4 separate regions of the Homo sapiens genome follow, and all the other regions are linked to region 4. The links are contacts of gene promoters, found by promoter capture Hi-C in blood cells and fetal thymus (Javierre and others, 2016). All regions are on one chromosome and are shown on one strand. Each heading gives the region's core, a stretch centred on a gene start or on the middle of the fragment in contact. The rest is flanking DNA. Distances are from core to core; before and after follow the strand shown.

What was found. Contacts are between HindIII fragments. The CHiCAGO score rates a contact against its expected background, and 5 or more counts as called.
Region 1: the fragment with the promoter of DNAJB12 here is called in contact with the fragment with the promoter of OIT3 in region 4 in 8 of 17 cell types (erythroblasts, endothelial precursors, M2 macrophages and 5 more); the score reaches 12.6 in erythroblasts.
Region 2: a fragment that was not itself captured here is called in contact with the fragment with the promoter of OIT3 in region 4 in 1 of 17 cell types (neutrophils); the score reaches 5.2 in neutrophils.
Region 3: a contact is called between a fragment that was not itself captured here and the fragment with the promoter of OIT3 in region 4, in 11 of 17 cell types (total CD4 T cells, erythroblasts, endothelial precursors and 8 more). The highest score is 7.8, in total CD4 T cells.

The regions. Positions count from the first base shown.
Region 1 is chr10:72,353,196-72,356,297 of GRCh38, reverse strand. It overlaps DNAJB12 (DnaJ heat shock protein family (Hsp40) member B12), which reads left to right and starts at 1,379. Exons shown (of 9, transcript NM_017626.7): 1 at 1,379-1,533. The coding sequence starts at 1,401. RefSeq lists enhancers at 1,153-1,402, 1,793-1,922. The HindIII fragment of the contact is 22,726 bases long and covers 1-3,102 here.
Region 2 is chr10:72,176,644-72,179,763 of GRCh38, reverse strand. All of the region lies in intron 5 of ASCC1 (activating signal cointegrator 1 complex subunit 1), which reads left to right. Among named protein-coding and RNA genes, the nearest start is that of ANAPC16, 38 kb to the left of the region's middle. The HindIII fragment of the contact is 2,243 bases long and covers 132-2,374 here.
Region 3 is chr10:72,374,721-72,377,917 of GRCh38, reverse strand. MICU1 (mitochondrial calcium uptake 1) reads left to right here. Exons shown (of 12, transcript NM_001195518.2): 11 at 2,046-2,135. Among named protein-coding and RNA genes, the nearest start is that of DNAJB12, 21 kb to the right of the region's middle. The HindIII fragment of the contact is 6,523 bases long and covers 1-3,197 here.
Region 4 is chr10:72,892,278-72,895,749 of GRCh38, reverse strand. It overlaps OIT3 (oncoprotein induced transcript 3), which reads right to left and starts at 2,011. Exons shown (of 9, transcript NM_152635.3): 1 at 1,891-2,011. The coding sequence starts at 1,951. The HindIII fragment of the contact is 8,602 bases long and covers 1-2,894 here.

The DNA of each region.
Region 1 (3,102 bases), core at 130-2,629, 540 kb after region 4:
CCTCCGCCATCACCCTTATCCAAGTTACCATTAATTTTCACCTGTATTATAATAGTAGCTTCCTGACTCTCATCCGGATTACTGTAGTAGCATCTTACCAAATCCTGCCTGAAAGGCCAAGCAATGTAAGGGCTGACAGATGACTCGGGGATTCGGCAACGTGGAGGTCACTGGCAACCTTCACAAGATTGCTTTCACTGGAGTGATAGCCCTCGAAGAACGGGATAATGATAGAACTGGATTACACTCTGTAGTAGAATCTTTTTTTTTTCTTCTTTTTTTTTAGATGGCGTTTCACTCTTGTTGCCCAGGCTGGAGTGCAATGGTGTGATCTTGGCTCACCGCAACCTCCACCTCCCAGGTTCAAGCGATTCTCCCGCCTCAGCCTCCCGAGTAGGTGGGATTACAGGCCATGTGCCACCATGCCCGGCTAATTTTGTATTTTTAGTAGAGACGGGGTTTCTCCATGTTGGTCAGGCTGGTCTCGAACTCCTGACCTCAAGTGATCCGCCCGCCTCGGCCTCTCAAAGTGCTGGGATTACAGGCGTGAGCCACCGCGCCCAGCCTGTAGTAGAATCTTTACGCTCCCTAGAATGTATTCGCCTTCCTGATCTGTTATAACTCACCAAGAGAATTCCCTTTTCAGAGCCTTTGCACTTGCTGTTCCTTCGGCCTGACCACCCTTCCTCCAGACAGTCACATCTACCTGTTATCGTTCCTGAATTCTGGTACCTGTTAATGACAGCTTCTGAGAGGTTTCTTTTATCGCGCTATTTAAAATAGCGCCTCCCACTCTCTATCCCTGTGTTTTCCATAATTTTTCTTCAGAGCTTTTATCACTATCTGAATCTATCTGGAGCTCCCCCAGCCTACACACACTGGAATGTAAGCTCCATGAGAGCAGGAGCTTTGTTTTGCTCACCCCTGTATCCCCATCATAAAACCATGCCTCACAAACAGTGGGCACTCAATATCTGTTCAGTGAATAAATAACCTTTGTCTGAAACGTATGTAGTTACATTACGTATATAGATCACCACTTAGTAAACCGTCTGGGAATAACAGGCACTCCGAAGGCCCCAGTCTCATCCCGACGGCTACCACGTGACCTTCCTGAGCTTGGGTTTCCTCCTCCGGAAGATTAGAGGGTTGGCGCATACTCAACTCTAAGACCTCCGGAACATGGAATCTGGGCGTGCACCATTATTGACACCTACACCAGCCGTCCCTTTCTTAGAAGACATACGGTAGCACTTCCACCCTCGCTCAAAACTCGGGAAAGGAGGGGCGGAGGGTGGATGTCATCACTCCGCGCCCGGCTGCCCGCGACGCGCCGGCGGGTGGCGCAGCCCTTCGCTCGCCCGGCCTCCCCCTCCCTGGTTCCGCGTTCTGGTTCCGCCATGGAATCCAACAAGGATGAAGCTGAGCGCTGTATCAGCATCGCCCTCAAGGCCATCCAGAGCAACCAGCCCGACCGGGCGCTCCGCTTCCTGGAGAAGGCACAGCGGCTGTATCCGACGCCGCGAGTTCGCGGTGAGTGTGAGGTGCCGGAGAGACTGGGGACATTAGAACTGATGGGGGGAACACGGGAACGGACCGACGGGAGCAGTTGGGGGAGGGGGAGGGGTGGCGAGGCGCGGCTACGCCTGCGCACTGAGGCGCGCGGTGGCTGCTGGGAGGCGTAGTTTTTCCCTCTTGTTCCTCTGCGGGATGCGAGCCGTCTGGAGACTCGGGCGGCCGGGACTTCAGCTTTCGGGGTGCTGGCGGAGCCCGCTGGGGTTTGAGGTCTCCGAGAATGAAACGCGCTGGCAGCCGGGACGAAGGGAACTTACCTGGAAGTGAACTCGAACTACTTTTCCCAAGGGGCCGTTCGGTAGCCCAGGCCAGTCGCCGGCCTGGGAAATATTACAGTTCAGGAAAATAAACATAACTCCTTTAAGGGAGAGAATGGGCGCTAGACAGGGAGACATTTCTGTTCTTCGGGCGCCAGGGAAAGGCGCTTCCGTATCTTCACTCCCTCTCACCTCTCGGGCTGAGGGTCAGGGACCACTCTCCCAAAATGCAAGCCGGCCTTTGCACCCACCCCAGTCCGCCGCCTCGGACTGTCCTGAAGCCGGGCCCCTCACTCCTCCCGATGATGAGATTCGGAGCGGGTGGCCTGGTGGGAGGTGCTGACCTCAGCCACCGCCAGTCCTCCATCGCCCGCAAGAGTCCAGCGGCGGTCAGCCATGTGGACGCCGAGGCTGCTGAGTTGCCCTGGACAGGAGCCTCCTGAGCCAGGGAGGGAAGAGTGAAGCTGGCTTTACAACTCATCACCTCGCTTCACCCGGGAACCCTTTCTTTTTTCTTTAACCTAAGTTTTCCAAGGAGTTTTTCTTAATCCACGCTAGAGGGGAGAGAGACACCGGGTGGTGCTTGTGATCACCACTCAGTAAACCGTCTGGGAATAACAGGCACTCCGAAGGGCCCAGTCTCATCCTGACGGCTACCACGTGACCTTCCTGAGCTTGGGTTTCCTCCTCGGGAAGATTAGAGGGTTGGCGCAGATAATGTGATTGGCAATAATACCCATAGGGCTTTGCAGTTTAGGAAGCTCCTTCACCTGTGCCTTCTCACTTGAGCCTGCCAGTCAGGGATGCAGAGCAAAGATCATTATCTTTATTCTATGGGTGAGGAAAATCTCTGAGGTAAGGGATGCCCAGGATGACACAGCTAGAAAGTAAAATGTTCTGTGACTCTGTAAATGTTTATGAAGGAAAAGAAATGAAATTGAGGAACAGCAGTCAGCCTCCTAACCGGCCCTGCCCGCCTGATGAGATTGAGAAAGCGGAACGCTGGTGGAAGAGGTAGCCTGGACTGCTGAACTTTCCTCCCTCCGGACTCTTGCAGGTTGATCTTTGGCCTGTTTGCCTCCCCTTGGAGAGGGTTTCGGGCTGTATTTGCCAGGACACCTGAGGTAACCTGCTCGAGGAGCCTCCCTGTGAATTAATTCATATTCTGTGGTGGGGTGGTATCCTCCAGCTGTCAGAATTCTGCCTGACACTGATGCTGCTGCGGGCTCAGGAGCAGGCAGCCAAGAAAGGATGGGCCACAGGGCCTCTG
Region 2 (3,120 bases), core at 4-2,503, 720 kb after region 4:
AATATGTATTGAGCTTTGTATTTTGCTAGACAGTGTTCTAAATGTCTCCTATGTTCATTTTGTTTAATCTTCAGTCCCTCCCTATGAGGTAGGTATTTATATCTCATTTCACTGATGAAGGAATGGAAGCTTAGAGAGAGTAACTTGCCTAAGGTGCCACAGCTAGTGGATGCCACAGTGTTAAGTAGAGCAGTGATACGAAGTTGCGTAGGATCTAGCATCTGCTCTAATCCAATAGAACAAATAGTTGACAGTCCTAGGGGTCACTGAGGAAAAGTTATTTGAATGGGAAAAAAATATCCTGTTAAACAATTGAAGACATTTTGATGGTTGCTTGCTAATCAACTGACCAACTGCTAACCAACTATACCAATCTTTCAGCAGGCATTTTCAAGTGAGAACAGCCTTGACTGGAATTCGGTAATAATTTGGACAGTATTTGAGGGTTTAAAAAAGAGCAGCAGGCCGGGCGCAGTGGCTCACACCTGTAATCCCATCACTTTGGGAGGCCAAGGCAGGTGAATCAGTTGAACCCAAGAGTTTGAGATCAGCCTGGGCAACCAAAACTTGTGTCTACAAAACATACAAAAATTAGCCAGCCTGGACAACAAGGCAAGATCCTGTCTCAGGAAACAACAACAACAACAACAAAAACAAGCAGCAGAGCTTTCCACTTTTGCTTGGGTTATTATTCAAATCATATACTCTTCCCGAATTGTTGAAAAGAAGTGTCATATGGATCAGATATTATCTAAGGACACGTTCATTAAGATGTCTGCCTTCAGTCCTGGTTCAGGACTTAAGAAGGTGAGACTCTTCATCTTCTGAAAAAAAAAATTGATATTATTAATGTTTATTTCTTTTTTTGAGAAGGTAAATTTATTTTTCTTTATAGCTTATGTCAAATACGTCAAGTGCTTTTGGGATCTCTGATATGAAAGATTCTGTTGAAATATCAGGTTATAGTTTACCCTACCTTATGAGTTTTCTATTGCTGTGTAAAAAATTACCACAATCGTAGCAGCCTAAAACCACACCCATGTATCATCTCACAGTTCTCTGGTAGTTTCATAGTACTGCAGGTCGGAAGACCCAGTGGGCTGGACTGGGTTGTCTGCTTAGGGTCTCACAAGGCCAAAATCAAGATGTTGACCAGACTGGTATCTCATCTGGAGGCTCTTGGGAAGAATCAACTTCCATGTGCATTCAGGTTGTTGGCAGAATTCAGATCCTTGTGTCTATATGTCTGAAAGTGCCGTTTCCTTGACACGTGACTGCTCTGGCTTCACCAAATCCTTCTTGTGTCAGATCTGACTTCTGCCACCAGCCAAAGACTCTGCTTTTTAAACAGCTCATGGGTATAGATTAGTCTCATTGGGATAATCTCTCTCTCTTAAAGTCCGCTGTACCATAGAACATAATATAATTTGTAGGATTCATACATTATCACAGCCACAGGGTCCACCTACAACCTGGATTATACCAGGGTAAAAGGTCATTAGGGGTCAGTCTGAGAATTCTATCACAGCTATTAATTTTCATTGTTAAACGTTGTTGTGAAGGTCACATTTTTGGTACAACAGGCAACTTTTCTATGCTCAGGTCTCATTCTATCCTTCTGATCATCCTTCCTTGAACATAATTCTTTCTTCCTTTAAAACAGTCAGCCTCTTTTTCCTCTTTGTTTGGTAGCAGACTTGTCCTTGACCTCACCCTTGGCTCTTCATGTTAACTGAATTTACCTTTTAGGATAGCATTCCCTGAAGTCACCTTTCTTTGTGTTCATCTGTTATATAAGAAATATTGTTTGACTGCAGACATTATCACTATCATCCCTGTGCTTCAGTTCCCTAATCTTGAGTATTTAATGTAGGATTTAGCTGCTCACAGACATTAGCAAGGTATTCTTCATCTGTGTGATCTGCAGATAAGCTGCACCTTATTTTTTCATTCTTTCGTCTCTTGCATTAAGATTCAAAGATGTCTCATTGCCTGCAAGTTCAAGAAGTATATTACAACCTTGTATATCTCTCAATCATTTTTTAGCTAGTAATGCTGCTATAATTCCACTTTATCTCACAGCAGGGTCCAGTAGAAAGCACATCAGTAATGAAAAACGGTAATTCAAAACCATGTGCAGTGGAACATTTGAAGGCTTATAGATCCATCTGAAGCAACAGGGGATTTCTCAGGCTGCCTAGAGAACCTGAATCAGTTATAGCTGCAGAAACTACATAATTCTGCTCATATTGTAACATGGAGGCTTACACTGGGCAGAATGGGTAATGGGTCTGCATCCCCCTAACTCCCTCAGGCAGGATTTTTTTTCCAGTTAGTATTAGTCACTGAAGAAGAAAATGTTTATATAAAAGCTTTAGTGTATAATTTAGGATTTTTCATGTTTAAGGGTAGTTGTAGGATTTGTAGTTATCTTTTGAACTGATTTAGAATGAAGATGGGATAGTTGTCTTTGGTTGTAAGGAAAATTGTAAAAAGCCCCAAGTTCTGATTGTAAAACCTACCAAGTTGGGTAGGAAAGTAAGAAAAGGAAATATTTACAAGATTCATATATTGTCCCATTTCGGTGGAGATACTAGTTTTGAACAGGTTTTTGTGTCTTATTGATTCATGCACTAGTTATTAAATGTCTACTTTATACCAGGTATATATAACATATAGGACATATTATGTGCCAACAATGGACTCTACTCTTAAGGATCCCATACTCTAGGGTGTGGGAAATAGACTTCTTCCAGAAATAGGTACCGTGTTGTGAGATAAGTGCTACTAGATAAGTGCAGTGTGTACCCAGAGGAGAAATTCTGTAGTGGTTGCAGAAGGCTTGATAAGGGAGCTGACAATTGAACAGTCTGGAAGGGACAGGAGTTTGTGCCAGGCTGGCAAATGGGGGCAGGGAGCATTCTGCGCAGAGGAAATGTCACTTGTGAGGTATTCAGGGGAGAGTGAGGAATTTGTTAAGGCTGGTACTTAGAAAGAGGTAGAGTAAGGAAGAGGTAGGAGTTAAGAGTGGAAATGACATGGCACCCAAGTTGTGAAAGCTCTTGTGTGGGTTAAGGATTTTGAATGTAATATCCTATAGAGAGTAAGAAAATAGTTAAG
Region 3 (3,197 bases), core at 463-2,962, 520 kb after region 4:
GTATCGGGTAAATATATGGAGGTGATAGAGGCAAAGTGAAAGATCAAATGCAAAAAATGACAAGATGGGCTGATAATAGGAACTGAAATTATAGGAATGCGATAAACAAGGCACAGTGGTTCTAGTTTAAGTTCACTTGGCTTCTGGATGAATCTAATGTGATGATTATAGAGAGCTCTTCATTACCAGCATAAATGGAAATTAATCCTTTTCTTTCCCTCATATTTTACCTCACTTAAGAATGTGTCCAGAAGCAATAACATGATTTATAGGTGTAGCTAGACCAGGTTTGAGGATAAATGAGAGAGAAGGCAGTGGAAATTGCCTCGTCCTTCCTGTCTTGTCTTTCATGAGAACCCAATTCTAACATAATTGCTAGTGTTTGACGGTGAATGTCTGGGAAAGAGAAAACGGCAAGAGAAAAGTGATTTTTTGCTGAGGTCTAAAAATATATATTTTTTAAAAGAAAGATATGCATCCTGAACTATTGGCCGGGCCCGCTGAGTGTGGTGGCTCACCCCTGTAATCCCAGCACTTTGAGAGGCCGAGGTGGGCAGATCACCTGAGGTCAGGAGTTCAAGACCACCCTGGCCAACATGGTGAAACCCCATCTCTACTAAAAATATAAAAATTAGCCAGGCGTGATGGCAGGCACCAGTAGTCCCAGCTACTTGGGAGGCTGAAGCAGGAGAATTGTTTGAACCCGGAAGGCAGTGGTTGCAGTGAGCCGAGATCGTGCCACTGCACTCCAGTCTGGCGGACAGAGTAAGACTCTGTCTCAAAAAAAAAAAGAAAGATACGCATCCTGAACTGTTAAGACAAGGGCCAGTGCATATACCAATGGGCTCAGTTGGAAGAAGTCTGGTGCAAAACCAGTAGGGAGGAGGGACAGAGTTGGGCAGGGAGGGCTCACTGTGCAGGCACTTAGCTGTCATTCACCCACCAAGGCGTGAAGCCTTAGTGTACTCACACCACAGACAAGCCTCCTTGTTCCCACCACCCATTTATATATTTCTATAAATATATATATAAATATAAAAATATATATGGCATAAAATGTGCCATTATAACCATTTTTAAATATACAAGTCAGTGGAATTACATTAATTACATTCACAATGTTGTACAACCATCATCACTATTTTCAAAATTTTTCCATCACCCCAGACAGAAATTCTGTATACATAAAGCAGTAACTCCCCATTCCCCTCAGCCCACAATAACCTCTAATCTACTTTCTGTCTATAAATTGAATATCAGGCACTTTTTATTTTTTGAGACAGTGTCTCACTCTGTTACATAGAGTGTTACTCCAGTACAGTGGCGCCATCTCAGCTCATTGAAACCTCTGCCTCCTGGGCTCAAGCTATCCTCTCACCTCAGCCTCCCAAGTAGCTGGTGCACACCACCATGCCGGGCTAATTTTTTGTATTTTTTGTAGAGACAGGGTTTCGCCATGTTGCCTCGGAATCCCAAAGTGCTGGGATTACAGGTATGAGCCACCGCGCCTGGCCAGCCTAGGCATTCTTAATTAACTATATATACCTCCTAAACTGTAGCAGCAGTAGAAAAGAACAGAACTTGAGGTGAAAAGGAGGGAGCTTATGAATAAAAACTCAATTATCATTTTTTCTTTTTTTTTTTGAAACGGAGTCTCACTCTCCCAGGCTGGAGAGCAGTGGCGTGATCTCAGCTCACTGCAACCTCCGCCTCTCGGGTTCAAGCAATTCTCTGCCTCAGCCTCCCAAGTAGCTGGGATTACAGGCACCGGCTAATTTTTTGTATTTTTAGTAGAGACAGGGTTTCACCATCTTGGCCAGGCTGGTCTTGAAGTTCTGGCCTCAGGTGATCCACCCTCCTCGGCCTCCCAAAGTGCTGGAATTACAGGCATGAGCCACTGTGGCCAGCCTAACTTATCATTTTCTTAAATGTGACTTAAATGCAGTTGAAAACTTGTATTATGACTGAGTCGTTTTATCCCCTGAATCAGAGAAAGCAAAATGAAAATCCCTCTGCTGTGCTAATGCACCTCTTTCTTTTTTCAGTGACCATGCAGCAGGTGGCCAGGACAGTGGCTAAAGTGGAGCTCTCAGACCACGTGTGTGATGTGGTGTTTGCACTCTTTGACTGTGATGGTGAGTGGGGCCCTCTGGAGCCCGGAGGGGAAACAGCCTAGCTGCCCTTAGAGGCCCTTGTGTATAATGGAGCCTTGCGGACAGCATCTGTGTACCAGCCCATCCTCTTCAAGCTACCCACCTTTCTCACATTAGCACCTCAGCCCTTGGCATGATGATACTGAGAAATCGAACCCCTGGCCCTGGCTTCTGTTTTCCATTTCTTCTTCTTATAATTCCAATATGCCTATAGGCCTAAATTAATTTATGACCATAAGCATCTTAAAAATGGAAACAAAAATGTCAGACTCAACTTGCTACTTAGCGGATACGGAGCACTCAGGTATCTGAGTGTCTTTAGAAAGAAGGCAGTACTGATCTCTCCACCACCCAGGGCACATTCCAGCCAGTTGCATTCCATCTCCATAGCATTCCAGCTCCACACAGTGGTCTGTTGTGTCTGTGGCCACTCTGCTCTGTCATTTAGCCCATTCAAGAGATCTGGTTCTGGTTTGACCTTGGCATTATTTTTTAGGTATGGTAGCTGATATACTAATAACAACAATAACAACGGATGCTTACACTTTTTCAATGCTTACTATGAGCCAGAAAGTTAATCTGCTCATTTAATCTTCTGACCTAGGTATTGTTATTGACCACTTTTTACTGATGAGAAAGCTGAGACTCAGAGAGGTTAAGTAGATTTCCTAAGGTCACAAAGATAATAGTATTTGGGAGGCTGAGGCAGGCGGATCACCTGAGGTCAGGAGCTCAAGACCAGCCTGGCCAACATGGTGAAACCCCGTCTCTATTAAAAATACAAAAATTAGCCAGGCACAGTGGTGCGTGCCTGAAATCCCAGCTACTCGAGAGGCTGAGGCAAGAGAATCACTTGAACCCGGGAGGCAGCAGGGAGCAGAGATCGTGCCACAACACTCCAGCCTGGGCGACAGAGCGAGACTCTATCTCAAAAAAAAAAAAAAAAAAAAAAAAAAGATAATAGTAGATGGCAAAACCAGGATTTGAACTAAAACTGTACTGCCCCCTCTGTTTTATTTACTATATTACCACCCTCTCTTACCC
Region 4 (3,472 bases), core at 762-3,261:
ACCAGGACCACGCAGGGCCAAGGGCAGGGAACCATGTCTGCGTCCCCACCCTTTCGCCCCAGGGTTGAGTCCTCCAACCCTCCAGGTCCTATCCGGCAGACAGCCGCCCCTGAATCACAGCCCCTTTTCGACCCTGTGCCTGAGCTTGGTCGGGAAGTGCCCCTCCTTTCCTGCTCCATCCTCTTCCATCCTCCTCCCTCATCACCCCACTTTGCTTCCCCCTTTCTCATCCCTTCTTTTCCTCTTCTCTCACTTCCCCTGTCCTCTCAGGGCAAACACCAGCTCTAGTTCCCAAAGTTCCCCCTTTATCATGCTTCTGGCATTGAGCCAAATATCATCCTTGAGGAGCTGGGGGTTGGAGGAAAAGATCTGGGAAGGGCGATGGTATATGGAAAGAATGGGGAATATAGGAGGTACTAGAGGGAGAATAGGTAAGGAGAAGGGTGGGAAGAAAGGGGAGTGGAGATTTTCGGGAGGACAACTTTCTGAGCGACCCTTGGGTTAGTTATTGGCAGCAGATAGGGGGTGATTAATGACAGGTAGCTCAAGCATATTTTTTGGAATAGTTTTGGATTTACAGCATAATTGAGATGATAGGACAAAGAGATCCCACATACCCCACACCCAGTTTCCCTTGTTATGACACGTTACCTTTAGCCATACATTTACCACACATTGGCATGGTACCTTTGTCACATTAATGACCCACTATTGATACCTGATTATTAACTCAAGTCCACACTTATTCAGATTCCCTTAGTTTCCACCCATATCTTTCTGTTCCAGGATCCCACATTACCTTTAGGTGTCAGGTCTCCTTAGGGTCTCAAATCACCATTTTTATTTTTATTTTTATTTTTTTGAGATGGAGTCTCCCTCTGTTGCCCAGGCTGGAGTGCAGTGGTTCGATCTCGGCTCACTGCAACCTCCACATCCCGAGTTCAAGTGATTCTCCCGCCTCAGCCTCCCAAGTAGCTGGAATTACAGGCATGCAACACCATGACCATCTAATTTTTTTGTGTGTATGTATTTTTAGTAGAGACGGAGTTTCACCATGTTGGCCAGGCTGGTCTTGAACTCCTGACCTCAGGTGATCCACCCGCCTTGGCCTCTCAAATGCTGGCATTACAAGTGTGAGCCACCGTGCCTGGCCACAAGCCTATTTTTAATGTGTATCCTTTCAGGTACTAGAGCAACCATGAAGAAATAAGCCAGGGTCAATTAGATACTGAGCTACTCAAAAGTGTCAAGAAGGATGGTTCTCTCCATCTCACCCCCACCCTCTGTTCCAGTTAGTACTCACATTCTACTAGAAAAAGATGCAAGAGAGAAATCTGTTAGTAACTGGAATTGAAACTTTTCTTTGCCTGACTGGCCAGTTTTGCACCAAGCCTGAGGAGGGAGACAATTTAAGATTCACTCGATCTGTGCAAAAAGTCTTATTTTCTGACATAAAGACTAATGAGTTTGGTTTATCCAGATCTGTGCCCCCCATGGCAACAGAGCTTTCAGTCCCTTGCCTTCATTAAAGAAAAATTCTATGCTCAACTTTAATTTTTTTTTTTTTGGCTCTTCAAGTTGGAACTATAAAGTGCCTAGAACACAAAGAAGATAGAATTATTTTTACACATACTCCAGGAACTCTTTAGCTAGTGAAAGCTGTGGGATATGGCAGATCCATGGAAATTTTGGAGTCCAGGCAAGAGGCTAAATGGAACATGTAACAGAAATTCTCGGGAAATCTATTTTCAAGGATTATTAGGGACTTTTCTTACAAGATTCTAGAGCTAGCATTTAAGGTACTGGAATCTAGTTCTTAATCATCTGTACATTATAGCAAATTGCCACAACAAAAAGTGCATTGTGCCAAGTTCTTGACATGAGACTCACCCACGGGTGACACGGAGGTGCCTGTGATGAAGAGGCAGGTGAGAAGCAGGAATGGAGGCATCCTTCTGGACCAACTGCCAGAAACACTGGAAAATCCTCTTAATACTGGTGTTCCTTTGTCCCCTTCTCTTTCAAGCACTTTTTTTTTTAAGGCCTCTAGGCTCTCACGAGAAAGACTTTATCAGCACTGGTAGGGGCTTTATCAGAGGAAGAGGATGAGGATGAGTGGGATAAGGTGTCCACAGCTCTGGCCTTGGCCCCAGAGAGAAGCACTGCTTTACACTGTCAACAGGGTTCCTTTATTAATAGTTTTCTTTAGGAAAAAAAAAAAAAAACACAACTCACAATCCCTCATCCTCCTATTGTTTTCTCTCAAGAATTCCCTGCAATGAAACCCCAGTATCTTATCCAGAAGGGAATTCTAAATGAGGGACATCCCTTCACGTCAAATTCTTGCTTTGTGACTTCTAGGAATTGATTTCACAATGTTGCAGCCATAGCACTGCACACTAAACGAGAATGGATGAAGCCAAATCACTGCAACTGTCTTGGTCAGATGGTTGAGGAGCTTATAATAGCACACAAAACAAAGTAGTAAGGACAGGTATGAGACAAGGACAGTATTCTCTTGAAATAAGCTCCTGAGTTTGTTTTATTACGGTCTTTGGCCTCAAAACTTCTGAAAGAAACAAGGTTTAAATTGTGTTTTTACTAATTCAAGCAGCAATACCTCATATTTTTATTGTCTTTACTCCCAAAATTAAAAAATGGTTTAATGTTATTTATTTCACTAATTCTCACATTAAGATGGGGTAGGAGCTTAAAATTAGAAACTACTCATTAAATTAACACTCTGGAAAATTAAATGTCAAAATTTCCTGAAGTTTCACTTTTAGACAAAGGAGAGAAAATGTGCTTCTTAGCACAATTTTTTTTTTCAGACGGAGTCTTACTCTGTCGCTCAGGCTGGAGTGCAGTGGTGTGATCTCGGCTCATTGCAAGCTTCGCCTCCCGGGTTCACGCCATTCTCCTGCCTCAGCCTCCCAAGTAACTGGGACTATAGGCGCCCACCACCACGCCCAGCTAATTTTTTTGTATTTTTAGTAGAGACAGGGTTTCACTGTGTTAGCCAGGATGGTCTCGATCTCCTGACCTCGTGATCCGCCTGCCTTGGCCTCCCAAAGTGCTGGGATTACAGGTGTGAGCCACCGAGCTCGGGCAATCACTGGTTTTTGACAATGACAAAAGTACACATGGTCTCCAGAAGCACAGGGTTTATGGTCAAGCAAGGGGTTTCCATTGATCTAAAATTGTAGTTAGCTACTTCATTACTAACATCAGTGGGACACAGGCAATTTGACCATTAACTTATTAAGTTGTGGTTTGATGGCAGCAATGGATGACTCTGCTGTCTCATTGCAGGATAGTGTTGCTAAGTATCAGTGCTTTAAACAGAAAAAACAATCCCCCACAACTTCCTGCGCCTAGGAAGCCATCTGAGGGCTTCATATGTGTTGCAGAGAAACAGAGGACGTGTGCATGAGATAAACCCAGACTTGTTGCCAGGATTGATTGCTGGAGT